Regions from separate parts of the Homo sapiens genome. Here region 1 is linked to region 2. Evidence: promoter capture Hi-C in human tissues and cell types (Jung and others, 2019). All regions are on one chromosome and are shown on one strand. Each heading gives the region's core, a stretch centred on a gene start or on the middle of the fragment in contact. The rest is flanking DNA. Distances are from core to core; before and after follow the strand shown.

Region 1 (6,014 bases), core at 335-2,834, 570 kb before region 2:
GCCCTTTCAACTGGGCAACTGTCTGTTGACTTTGCAAAGTGGTACCCAACCCCTGTGCCTCTCACCTTTACCCTGCAGAGATAACCTGGGAGACGCAGGTGCATGTTAGATTCCTTTCTGCAGTGGGTGGACTTGAGCTAACTTGTCTCCTCCCTTCTAATGCCACACTCTTCTGATATGAGGAGATGAACTCTATAATATCAATCACAACAATTACCTCTTATTTATGGCTTTCTGTGCTGGGCACTGTGCTAAGGACTACACATACATAATTTTGCTTTGTCCTTCCCACCATGTGATATATGGACTGTTCTTATCACTGTATGTGGATGAGGAAACAGTTATAGTTTTTTTTTGTTTTGTTTTGTTTTTTGTGACGGAGTCTCACTCTGTCACCCAGGCTGGAGTGCAGTGCGTTATCTTGGCTCACTGCAACCTCTGCCTCCTGGGTTCAACCGATTCTCCTGCCTCAGCTTCCCAAGTAACTGGGATTACAGGCATCCATCACCATGCCCAACTAATTTTTGTATTTTCAGTAGAGACAGGGTTTCACCATGTTGGCCAGGCTGCTCTTGAACTCCTGACCTTAAGTGATCTACCTGCCTTGGCCTCCCAAAGTGCTGGGCTTTACAGGTGTGAACCACCGTGCCTGGCCCAGTTATAGATTTAAAACATGCATATTCATTGGATGTCTACTTAAGAGAAGTACTGTGCCAGGCACTGGGAATACTGCGACAGATGACCTGGCCCTAAGGGGTGTTTAGTTGAGTAGGGGAGGCAGGTGAGTTAATAGGCGTTTATTACATGGCAGGGATACCATGTACAATAGGTGTAAACCCAGGGGACTGTGGATATGCATAGGGGAGCTTATCTGTTCTAATCTGAGTGAGTTGGTGGTCAGGAAACATGAGATTTATCCAGCCTTTGGGGACATGTAGAACTACTCCAGGCCAAGAAAGCTACAGGTACAGAGGCAAGATGGAGGAAGGTGTATTTAGAGATTGCAAGCAGTTTTACATACTTCTGTTTCACTCACAGAACTGTTTCTCTCCTCCCTGCTCAGGACAAGGAGAGCATCCAGCGAGTCCTGCAGGCTGTGGATAAAGCCAATGGATACTGTTTCAGAGCCCAAGAGCAGCGAAGCTTGGAAGCCATGATGTCTGCCGCAATGGGAGCCGACTTCCATTTCTCTTCGTATCCTTGCCAGCTTCCTGGCCATAGCAGAGAGGGTGAGACATGGGACTCAAGAATGGCCACAGGAGGTGCAGTCATCAACCTTGTGGATGACCAATTTCTTTTTTTTTTTTTTTTTTTGAGATGGAGTCTTGCTCTGTCGCCCAGGCTGGAGTGCAGTGGCACGATCTCAGCTCACTGCAAGCTCTGCCTCCCGGGTTCACGCCACTCTCCTGCCCCAGCCTCCTGAGTAGCTGGGACTACAGCCACCCACCACCACGCCCAGCTAATTTTTTGTATTTTTAGTAGAGACGGGGTTTCACTGTGTTGGCCAGGATGGTCTTGATCTCCTGACCTTGTGATCCACCCAATTTCTTTTTTCTTTTTTTTTTTTGAAAGGGAGTTTCGCTCTTGTTGCCCAGGCTGGATCGCACAATGGCGCAATCTTGGCTCTGTGTAACCTCTGCCTCCCATATTCAAGCAATTCTCCTGCCTCAGCCTCCCAAGTAGCTGGTATTAGTGTGCGCCACTGTGCCCAGTTAGTTTTTATATTTTTAGTAGAGACGGGGTTTCACCATGTTGGCCAGGCTGGTCTGGAACTCTTGACCTCAGGTGATCCACCTGCCTCAGCCTCCCAAAGTGCTGGGATTACAGGCATGAGCCACTGCGCCCGGCCGTGGATGACTGATTTCATATTGATCAGTTGGGCTTCCTGATGACTGTCTCTCATGTGCAAAGGTGGTCCCTTGGCTTCAGAGTTGGTTGTACTGAGGACAAGAGAGGATATTGATCAATAGGAGTAACAAATACAGAGGCCCAGAAATGAGAGGGCATTAGTCATTCGGGAGAGATGCAGGAGTCCAGTTCCTGGTGTGTTGCATGTGAAGAGGAAAGGGCGTTGCAGGGGTACAGGCAGGGCTGCCGAGGGAGGGGCCTGAGTGCCCTACTAAGGAATGTGGACTTCAGTTCATGGGTGGGCAGTGGGAGCAAGTATTCAAGCAGTACTGTTGAACAGGGTGTGACACAATCAGATGTACATTTTAGAAAAGCCCCTGCAATTGTGGAAAATGCATTTAAGGGACGTGATTGGGGGCAAAAGAGTTTTACAGTCTTGCTAGGTGAGAAGGGTTGAAAGATTTGTAGTGAGAATAGAAAGAAAGGTGTAGAATGGAAAAATACTAAGGAGATAGACTGTAAGAGTCAGTGACTGAATGGGATAGATGGAGCTGGAGTAGAACTTAGCTTCCCAGATCTCTGGCTTAGACGGTGGGTGGTTGTACTAATCACTGAGGCAGGAAAAGGAGGAGGGAGCAGGTTTGTCACATGGATGAAAGGGACAAGAGCTGGCAGATGTGCTGTGTTCAGGGGTCCATGGGACATCCAGAGCTGTCCAAGAGGCAGCCAGACTTTTGGAGCTTGGTTAGTGACTAATGAGGCTGGAGCCAAGGTCATGGGTAGGTGTCCATCAGGTCACAGAGGCCATGCGTGAAGCAGGACAGAAAAGTCCAGGCCCTCTAGGCTGATGCTCTCACAGATTCAGCATCTATGCAGCATGCTGGAGACAAGGGGGACTCAGGAGTCTTAGGGTATAGAGGAAAATAATTCCAGCCAACACTTACTGATGTTTCTCGAGCCATATGTGGGAAACAAAGCTCATGGGGTCGGGGTTGGAGGAATGACTTATAAATGATGGCAGTAGAGTGTGCAGTCCCTGATGAAGGTACTAAGGAGCTGCGTCACACCTGCAGTTAATGTAGGCCAATTGGACTGCATGTGCTCAGCAAAAGAGGGGAGGAGCAATTTTTTTTTTAAATTTAAGATGGACTTTCTTTTGCTGTTGTTGCCCAGGCTGGAATGCAATCTCCAACTCCAGGGTTCAAGTGATTCTCCTCCCTCAGCCTCCTAAGTAGCTGGGATTACAGGCATGCTCCACCACACCTGGCCCTTTTTTTTTTTTTTTTTTGAGACGGACCGTCAATCTTGTTGCCCCAGTTGGAGTGCAATGGTGCAATCTCAGCTCACTGCAACCTCCATCTCCCACGTTCAAGCAATTCTCCTGCCTCAGCCTCCCGAGTAAGTGGGATAATAGGCGCCCGCCACCACGCTCAGCTAATTTTTTGTATTTTTAGTAGAGACAGCGTTTTACCATGTTGGCCAGGCTGGTTTCGAACTCCTGAACTCAGGTGATCCACCTGCCTTGGCCTCCCAAAGTGCTGGGATTATAGGCGTGAGCCACCATGCCCGGCCTGCAACTTTTATATTTATTTCTTAGAGGCAGGGTCTTGCTCCTTTGCCCAGGCTGGAGTGCAGTGATGCAATCATAGCTCACTGCGACCTTGAACTCCTGGGCTCGTTACCCTCCCACCTCAGCCTCCCAAAGTGCTGGGATCACAGGCATGAGCCATCGTCCCCAGCTGGGAAGGGCAGTTTATGTTTGTTTATTTTGTGAGGCAGAGTCTCACTCTGTTGCCCAGGCTGGAGTGCAGTGGCGTGATCTCAGCTCACTGCAGCCTTGACCTCCCTGGGCTCAAGTGATCCTCCCACTTCAGCCTCCTGAATAGCTAGGACTATGGGCGTGTGCCACTGTGGCCAGCTAATTTTTGTAGAGATGGGGTTTCACCATACAGCCTAGGCTGGGAGAAGCAATTTAAATAATGTAGTATTTTGTACACCGTACAGATGGTTCCCAACTTATGATGGCTCAACTTTATGATGGTGTGAAAGCTATATGCATTCAGTAGAAATCATACTTTGGGTACCTATCAATCATTCTTTCACTTTCAGTACAGTATTCAATAAATTACATGAGATATTCAATACTTTATTGTAAAATAGGCTTTGTGTTAGATAATTTTGCCCAAATGCAGCTAACGTAAGTGTTCTAAGAATATTTAAGGTAGGCGAAACTAAGCTATGATGTGTGGTAGGTTATGTGTATTAAATGCATTTTCGACTTAAGATATTTTTGATTTAGGATGGGTTTATCAGGATGTAACCCCATCATAAGTCAAGGAGCATCTGTACGTTACTTTATGTATTCGTATATATAAAGGATTCTATTCACAAAACCATGTATGCTGCATTTAACAAATAATTTGAGGAATTTTAAAGAGTATTTTTAACCATATACATTTGTGCTGATTTTAGATTCTGCCCTGACCCTAACCCCCTTAAGATTCAGCAGCTCTCTGTAAGAGAGTAGGGACTGATACAAATAAGGGAGTGGTCAGCTTTGCTGAAGGGTAGGTGGGTAAGGAAAGCTTTATGGAGGCATGACACGTGAGTTGTGTCATTTCAAGGTGAGGGTTAGCCAGTCTAATGAAGAAGAAAAGGGAATTCAAGTTAAGAGAACATGCAAAGGCATAGGGGTTCAAAGTTGAGACAGGTTTCAAGGGTTGCAAATAAGATGGCATGGGCCAAGTGTAATGGCTTCATGCCTGTAATTCCAACACTTTGGGAGTTAAAGGTGGGAGGATTGCTCAAGGCCAGGAGTTTGAGACCAGACTGGGTAACATAGTGAGACCCCATCTCTCTCTCTTTTTTTTTTTTAAAGTATAAAAATTTATTTTTGGCCAGGCGTGGTGGCTTACGCCTGTAATCCCAGCACTTTGGGAGGCCAAGGCGGGCGGATCACGAGGTCAGGAGATCGAGACCATTTCTGTCAACATGGTGAAACCCTGTCTCTACTAAAAATAGAAAAATTAGCTGGGTGTGCTGGCATGTACCTGTAGTCCCAGCTACTCTGGAGGCTGAGGCAGGAGAATTGCTTGAACCAGGGAGTTGGAGGTTGCGGTGAGCCGAGATCGCGCCACTGCACTCCAGCTTGGTGACAGAGTGAGACTCTGTCTCAAAAAAAAGAAAAAGAAAGGTCTGTAACTCGAACATCATTTGGTGGGCTAAGTGCTTTACTTGCAGGGTCATTTAATCCTCATTTCAACCCCTTTTATAATTGAGGCGACAGGCCCAAGGTCCCTCTCCCGGGATGTTTTGGAAGAACAGTTCAAACCTTGGTTTTGGTGGGTGTAGAATCTGTTTCTTACTTTGGAGCCATCTGGTAGTACAACAGCCATGGTGTCCTAACATAGCCAACCTAGCCATGGCTAACCTCCATGTCCTCGTCAGACCCCAGACCCAGACATCATCAGGTTTTGAACTCCCTTAGTCTGGCTCCAGAGCATGTGCCATAACGCAAAATTGCAAGGTTAGTACTGTCCAGTCCTTTGATCCGCAGCAGTGTGTGGAAGAGGCAGATAGAGGAGCATTTGAGTCTGGGTGTTTTTGGAGGCTTCTCATACCTGATTGGTCCCTATAATTATGAGGAAGAGAGGGATGGACATGGTTGGAGTGTAGGCATCAGCGGAAGTCAGATCCTGCCCAGACCAGCTCCCCATCCTCTGCCTATGCTATCAGCCTTGACGCACCCTTCCTCAGCACACTGGGCATCCAGGAGAAGTACCTGGCACCCTCGAACCAGTCAGTGGAGCAGGAAGCCATGCAGCTGTAGCAACAAGGTGGACCCTGGAGAGCAGGATGCATAATCCAGCACTGGGGAAAGTGGAGGCTCCTGATGCAGGCTGCAGACCCAAGAGCAAGTCCTCCCAGCCAGAGCTGGCGGGCTGGCAAGGGGATATTCAGCTCTGCAAAGGACTTCTGGCCAAAAAGCCAGACATGGTGCCAAGCAGAACACCCCCCATACTGTCAGTGGTGTCCGTGAGCTCTGGGCCCTGCCACCAGAAAGTCGAGCACTGGTCCTAGTCAGGCTGTGATGAAATGTGCTACAATACAAGAGTTTATTTTCTACTTTTTGTGACTTCCAAACTTTTCTTCAGTCTTCCGGGCCC
Region 2 (6,614 bases), core at 1,584-4,083:
TCTCTAGTACCATCATTCCCAAACACCCAGGGATGGATGAAGCAAACGCAACTGCAGGGTTGGTGAGGCTGCCAGGTTCTGGGCCTTGTCCCTGCAATGTGCTTCTAAGGGGAAGGGCCCTCAGCATTGGAATTTAGGTGGGGAAGCTGGGGGCTGCTCCCTGGTGCCAATTTCCCTGCTGATGGGGACATGGGAAACTCCCTGGTGCTGCTGCACAGCTGGCTCTTGGGGCGTAGGGATGTCCAGTAACCACAAGCAGGACCCCACTGCAAGTACAAGGGTAACTTTATTGACCCCCAGCTGGGCACTGCTTGGCCCCTACATCATTACCCCCCTATTTTGGCTGTTGCCCCCATGGCACTGCCTGTCAACTTCTACAACCTGGTGATGTCTGGCATCAACCCCTCCCAAAGATGGAGGGGATTCTCTTGCGAGTGATGGTGGCAGCTGTTTCAGGGGGCACAGGGCTAAGGCTGAGACGTGTCACCTCAACTGAAGCAGAAGAGGTGGATTATGGCATTGGCCACGAAGAAAAGGAAAATGCCTCCGCTTATGTTGCTGGATGCTGAGGGGCTGCTGGTTTGGCTGGTGTCGTTTTGTCCTGAGAGTCCAGTTTGTATCTGTAGGAGGAGAAGTGGGATAAGATCAGGGGACTTTTTTTTTTTTTTTTAGAGGTGGAGTCTCACTCTGTCACCCAGGCTGGACTGCAGTGATGCGATCTCGGCTCACTGCATCCTCCACCTCCCGGGTTCAAGTGATTCTCCTGCCTCAGCCTCCTGAGTAGCTGGGACTATAGGCACGTGCCACCACGCCCGGCTAATTTTTCTATTTTTAGTAGAGACGGGGTTTCACCATGTTGGTCAGGCTGGTCTCGAACTCCTGACCTGGTGATCCACCCGCCTCGGCCTCCCAAAGTACTGGGATTACAGGTGTGAGCCATCGTACCCAGCCCTCAGGGGACTTTTGAATAGCGTGTTTGTTATTTAAAGATGCAGTCCCCTTTCTACCCTCCCCGCCCTCCATCCGCCCACCTCCATAAAACAGTCCTCAGTTCTGCCCCATGTGACCACTACTTCTTCCACAAGGTCCTGTCAGGATGTTTGACTGCTTCCTGCTTTGACACAGGCAGGGACAGAGGTGATCACTGCCCCTGTCCACCCCCTTTCACAGAAACTTTCTGTTTTTTTGAGATAGAGTTTCGCTCTTTTGCCCAGGCTGGAGTGAAGTGGCATGATCTCGGGTCACTGCAACCTCCACCCCTCAACCTCCCGAGTAGCTGGGATTATAGGCAGCCGCTATCACGCCCAGCTAATTTTTTTTTTTTTTCCGAGACAGAGTCTTGCTCTGTCGCCCGCCCAGGCTGGAGTGCAGTGGCGTGATCTCGGCTCACTGCAAGCTTCACCCCCAGGTTCACGCCATTCTCCTGCCTCAGCCTCCCGAGTAGCTGGGACTACAGGCGCCCGCCACCACGCCACGCCCGGCTAATTTCTTTTTGTATTTATGGTAGAGACGAGGTTTCAATGTGTTAGCCAGGATGGTCTCGATCTCCTGACCTCATGATCCACCCGCCTCAGCCTCCCAAAGTGCTGGGATTACAGACGCGAGCCAGCGCGCCCGGCTCGCCCAGCTAATTTTTGTATTTTTAGTAGAGACGGGATTTTGTCATGTTGGCCAGGCTGGTCTTGAACTCCTGACCTCAGGTGATCCGCCTGCCTCGGCCTCCCAAAGTGCTGGGATTATAGGCGTGAGCCACCGTGCCCGGTCACAGAACCTTTCTTTTCACCTTTCCCCAGCGACCAGCCCTTCTGGCATAGAGGGAGACAGGGGAGCCCTGGCCCTTGACCTTCCTAGCCTGGCAAAGGGCTTAGCTTCCCTGAGCCTCAGTTTCATCTTCTGAGTGGGGAGAAGTTCATCACAGTTGTGAAGGTCACATGAGCCAGGGCTGAGTGAGAAAGCACTTGGCAAAGCGTGGGTGGCTGGATGTGGGGTGGGGAAGTGGCCAGATGGTGATCGAGCTGTCCTTAATGCTTGATGGAGCTGCAACTAGAACTGTTCTTGATGGAGATTAAGCTGGTTTTGATGGTGATCAAGCTGTTCTTGATCAAGAACTTGATGGCTCCGGTCTGCTGTACTGACTCCCCTCTGGGCACCTGGGATGCTACCAAAGCTGCCTCCTGGAATAGCAGTCGCTTTTGAGACTCCAGTTGTTTCTGAAATGGGAGAGTCCTGTCTTCTTTGCATTCCTGAACATCCAGGCTTCTCTCTGGCAGGGGAGTGGGGGTTAGAGTGTCCCCTGTCACCTCCATAACCACAGCAGGCTCCACTTGGACATCTCCTGGCCTCTCCCCAAAGGACCATCTCCCCAGACTCCCTGTGGGCCGATGCCTTCCTCACTCAGGGTTGTCTTCCCAAGTCTCTTAGTTCTCTATTATTCCACAACACCCCTTGGGTGCCCCAACGCGCCTAGCACCCTGTAAGTGCTCCCCAGCTGTGGATACAGGTTTCTCTCAGGGCAGCCCGCAAGCAGTGCAGCCCCAGCCAGAAGAGCTGGAAGGCTGGGCGGCCAGGCCCGCTGTGTCCCCAGTTTTCCTGTTGGAGTCCATCTGCTGTGCTCTCAGGAGAGAAGGCTGGGTCTCTGGGAGCTCACATCCTGTATGCCCTCCCTCCATGCCAAGCAACTTTGGGGAGTCCTGGCAGTGGTGCCAGGCGTTGCTCTTACCTGTACCATAACCAGGAGGCTGATGGTGAGTAGGAGGAAGAGGAAGCGCTTCATTTTGGTAGGATCTTCGTGGCTGTCTTGGTAGCAGCTTTTTAGGTGATCTCAGGGCTGTCTGGAGGCTTCTTTTGGTTTAGCTGCTTTTGAACCAGGAGGCAGAGGAGGCGGGGTGAGGTAGGGAGAGGAAGGAGGGCTTACAAGGTGGAGGAGGGGTGTGGCTTCCTTTCTGCAGATCTGGGGGTGGATAATACCAGGCTCTAGGTTCTAAGGCCCTGGCTGGGGGAGCAGGCTAGATCGTACAAGATAGGAGAGAGGTCAATCCAGAGGCAACGGTGGGAGTAAGTAGGGCCCAAGGCCTGGAATCATGCATCCTGCAGGCTGAATCCTGGTTTAATCACTGACCAGCTCTGAGACCCTGGGCCAGAAACTCTACCTCTCTGACCCTTTAACAAAAGAACTGCCGGATTACATGTAATAATAACCAATTTAAAAAGAGCCAGAACATAGCAGATATTCCGTAAATGAGTTTGTTGTTTAAAGAAGATTGGGGCAGGGTATAGGAGCTGAAGGAGAAGGGCTGGGATAGATTTATGTTTCAAGGGAAGGTTGTAGATGGGCTGCAGGTTCTGAATGAAAGCTTGGGAAATGTTTAGATTGTGGAAGGGTTGGTGGATTTCTGTGAAGGTGCTGGAGGTGAGGAATCGGGAAGCCTGGTTTCAGTTGGGCTTTCCCTCTCTAGGCCTCAGTTCCTCATTTCAAGGAACTGGGAAGACTGAAATAGATTATTTCTGAAGTTTGTTAAAACCTAGTGTTTTGTTTTGTTGTTGTTGGTTTTTTTGTTTTTTTTTTTAAACAGAGTTTTGCTCTGTGCACTGGCATGATCTCGGCTTACTGCAACCTCCACCTCCTGGGTTCAAGCAATTATCCTGCCTTGGCCTCCCGCATAGCTGGGACTACAGGTGTGTGCCACCATGCCTGGCTAATTTTTTGTATTTTTTTTTTTTTTTTAGCGGAGACTGGGTTTCACCATGTTGGCTAGGCTAGTCTCGAATGCCTGATCTCAAGTGATCCGCCTGCCTCGGCCTCCCAAAGTGCTGGGATTACAGGCATGAGCCACCGCGCCCAGCCAAGACCTAGAATTTTGTGATTTTGGTAGAGAAAGTAGCAAGCAGATGGGTTGTTTGTATTAGCTGAGGATGAATGGGAGGGGAGCGAGGGAAGGGACAAGTGGGTGACTAAGCTACAGTGGAAGGGGACTGGGGTGAGAGAGTGGCTGTGAGGGCCCAGGGAGGGGTGGGGGGATGAGAGGAATCCCACAGCTGCCTGGATAGTGCTCCATGCTTTATGCATTCCCTCACTTGATACCCTCTGTGGTGCCCTGCAGCAGGTGTTATGTTTATCCCCATTTGACTGGTGAAAAAACTGAGGCTTAGATGTTAAGTGACTTGCTAAGGTCGTAAATGGTGGAGCCAGTCTCATTTGACCTTGAATCCAGGTCTGTCTGAAGCCACAGCCATGTATGTAACCTCTGGGGCTGCCCTAGAATTCATCCATTAAGTCTTGATTCCCTGCCACTCCCTCCCCCTCCCCTACACAAACTCCCCCCAGGCCCCAGGAGTTGGTCACCACAACCCCAGCTCTGGCCCACTCTCCCTTCACACTCTCCCTTCCTTAGTCTACTTTAGGCCTCATTTACATGCTAGGTAGTAAAGGGAAAACTCCCCTCACTTCTCTTCTATTGTTTTGGGCCTTGTGTTGCAAGCCCAGGGGAGATCTGGCTGAGGCTGAGTCCAAAGAAAAAAACAGAGGCTGGGCATAGGGGCTACGCCTGTAATCCTAGCAGTTTGGGAGGCTGAGGCGGGCAGATAACTTGAGCACAGGAGTTTGAGACCACCCGGGCAACATAGGAAGGCCCCATCTCTCAAAAAAAAAAAAAAAAAAAAAAAAAATTAGCCGGGCATAGTGGCACAAACCTATAGTCTCAGCTACTTGGGGGCTGACGCAGGAGGATTGCTTGCACCTGGGAGGCCCAGGCTGCAATGAGCCATGATTGTGGCACTGCACTCCAGCCAGGGTGACAGAGCAAGACCCTGTCTCAAAAAAAAAAAAAAAAAGGCCAGGAAACAGTGGCTCACGCCTGTAATCCCAGCATTTTGGGAGGCCGAGGTGGGTGGATCACCTGAGGTCAGGAGTTCTAGACCAGCCTGGCCAACATGGTGAAACCCTGTCTCTACTGAAAATACAGAAATTAGCCAGGTGTGCTGGCACATGCCTGTAATCCCAGCTACTCGGGAGGCTGAGGCAGGAGAATCACTTGAACCCGGGAGAAGGAGGTTGCAGTGAGCCGAGATCGTGCCATTGCACTCCAGCCTGAGCGACAAGAGAAAAACTCCATTTCAAAAAAAGAGAAGAGAAGAAAAGAAGAACTGAGAGTCAAAGCTGATGAGAGAAAGCCAGGAAGTGGAGAGGGAGGGGCGGGGAGGGAGAGAAGAGGGAGGAGTCCCCAGCCATCCATCACCCTCTTTCCCCATCCCTGCCCTTTCACCCAGAGGTCTCTCCTCACCCTTGACTCAAGTTCTCAGCTGTCTTTGGTGTGCCTGTGGGGGTGAGTGATTCTGGGGTTCATGAGAGTCAGGGAGGTGTCCTGTGCCAGAAGGGCACCAGCCCAGAAGACAGGATACCCGTGTTGAAGTCTGAGATTACTCTGCTGAAAATGAGCTCCATCACACTGTGCAATCTTCTCCCCTCTTACAAAGAGGCAGCCAGACAGGACGAGCCTGGGGCCAGCCGTGTTATAGTTTCCCATGCTGGAGATGCATGCGAGGATACTAAATGCCAGACTCTTATTTGTAAACATTTTCTTGCAAACCTCAGAAGCTTCATTTTCACCTCCTGACACCCTGAGGAGTATCTTCTACAGTCCATGTATTTCCTCTGCAAGGAAAGCCCTTCTCCAATTATTTTACCTGGCAAACTCTTTTTTTTTCCCCTCGAGTCAGGTTCTTGCCGTTGTCACCCAGGCTGGAGTACAAGTGGTGCAATCATAGCTCACTGTAACCTCGAACTCCTGGGCTCAAGCAATCCTCCCGCCTCATCCTCCTAAGTACCTGGGACTACAGGTGCATGCCACCATGCCCAGCTAATTTTTGGGGTGGTGGAGGGTGGAGTTTTGCTATGTTGCCCAGACTGCAAACTCTTCTTTATTCTTCAAGATTTAGCTTAGAAGCCCCTTCCCCAGGGAAACTTTCCACTTTCCCTAGGAAACTCAAAGTTCCTAAATGTTCGAAGGGCCCTTTCTGTTGACCTCTGTTCTAAAGATTGTGTCTACCAAGAATATGGTCTGTCCCTTGTGGGTTGGGACTAGATTTTGTCACTTCTCTTACTCAGCGAAGCACAGAACATGGCACAGTGTAGGTGTCAGGGACTGCCGGAAGAATGAGTGCGTGTATTCATCTAGATCTATTCCCACCTCCGAGCCTAGTAGTCCTGCATTTATTCATCCAGTAAATATTTACTATGGGGCAACAGTAAAGTCAGTACTGAAAAGTTACCAATGCAGAAAAGAAATAAGGGACTGAGAGAAGCAAGCCCTTTATATGGAGCTGCTTTCCTCCTAAAAGTATGCCACTTGCAGAGGGGACAGCTGAGAAACTGAGCTGAGCTTTCTCATCTTCACATACTTACAAATGTATGGGAGAAAAACTATAGTTCTAGATTCTCTAAGAAAGGGGAGCCCTGACAAACTCCCCCCACCTAGGCTTTGGGTTGGACCACGGGGAGTGAGAGTAAACAGGAAACAACAGCCCAACCCTCAAAGAAATTGAAGACAACATGACCAAAAAGCAGAAACAGATAATAGAAAGTTATACAAAAGATCCAGATAATGGAATAATCAATC

What was found. The method cuts DNA at HindIII sites, captures the fragments that hold promoters and counts their contacts. A contact is called where the count stands out against the background at its distance.
Region 1: a fragment that was not itself captured here is called in contact with the fragment with the promoter of CD52 in region 2 in 1 of the 25 tissues and cell types used here (lymphoblastoid cells).

What each region holds. Positions count from the first base shown.
Region 1 is chr1:26,879,340-26,885,353 of GRCh38, reverse strand. It overlaps GPN2 (GPN-loop GTPase 2), which reads left to right. Exons shown (of 5, transcript NM_018066.4): 4 at 1,064-1,194; 5 at 5,605-6,014. The coding sequence ends at 5,677. Among named protein-coding and RNA genes, the nearest start is that of GPN2-AS1, 6.2 kb to the right of the region's middle. The HindIII fragment of the contact is 7,583 bases long and covers 1-5,375 here.
Region 2 is chr1:26,314,177-26,320,790 of GRCh38, reverse strand. It overlaps CD52 (CD52 molecule), which reads right to left and starts at 2,833. Exons shown (of 2, transcript NM_001803.3): 1 at 2,720-2,833; 2 at 268-620. The coding sequence starts at 2,773. The coding sequence ends at 489. It also overlaps a transcript of UBXN11 not described here. RefSeq lists enhancers at 1,827-1,926, 1,068-2,053, 2,427-2,576, 2,707-2,776 and a silencer at 2,851-3,043. The HindIII fragment of the contact is 5,127 bases long and covers 1-4,473 here.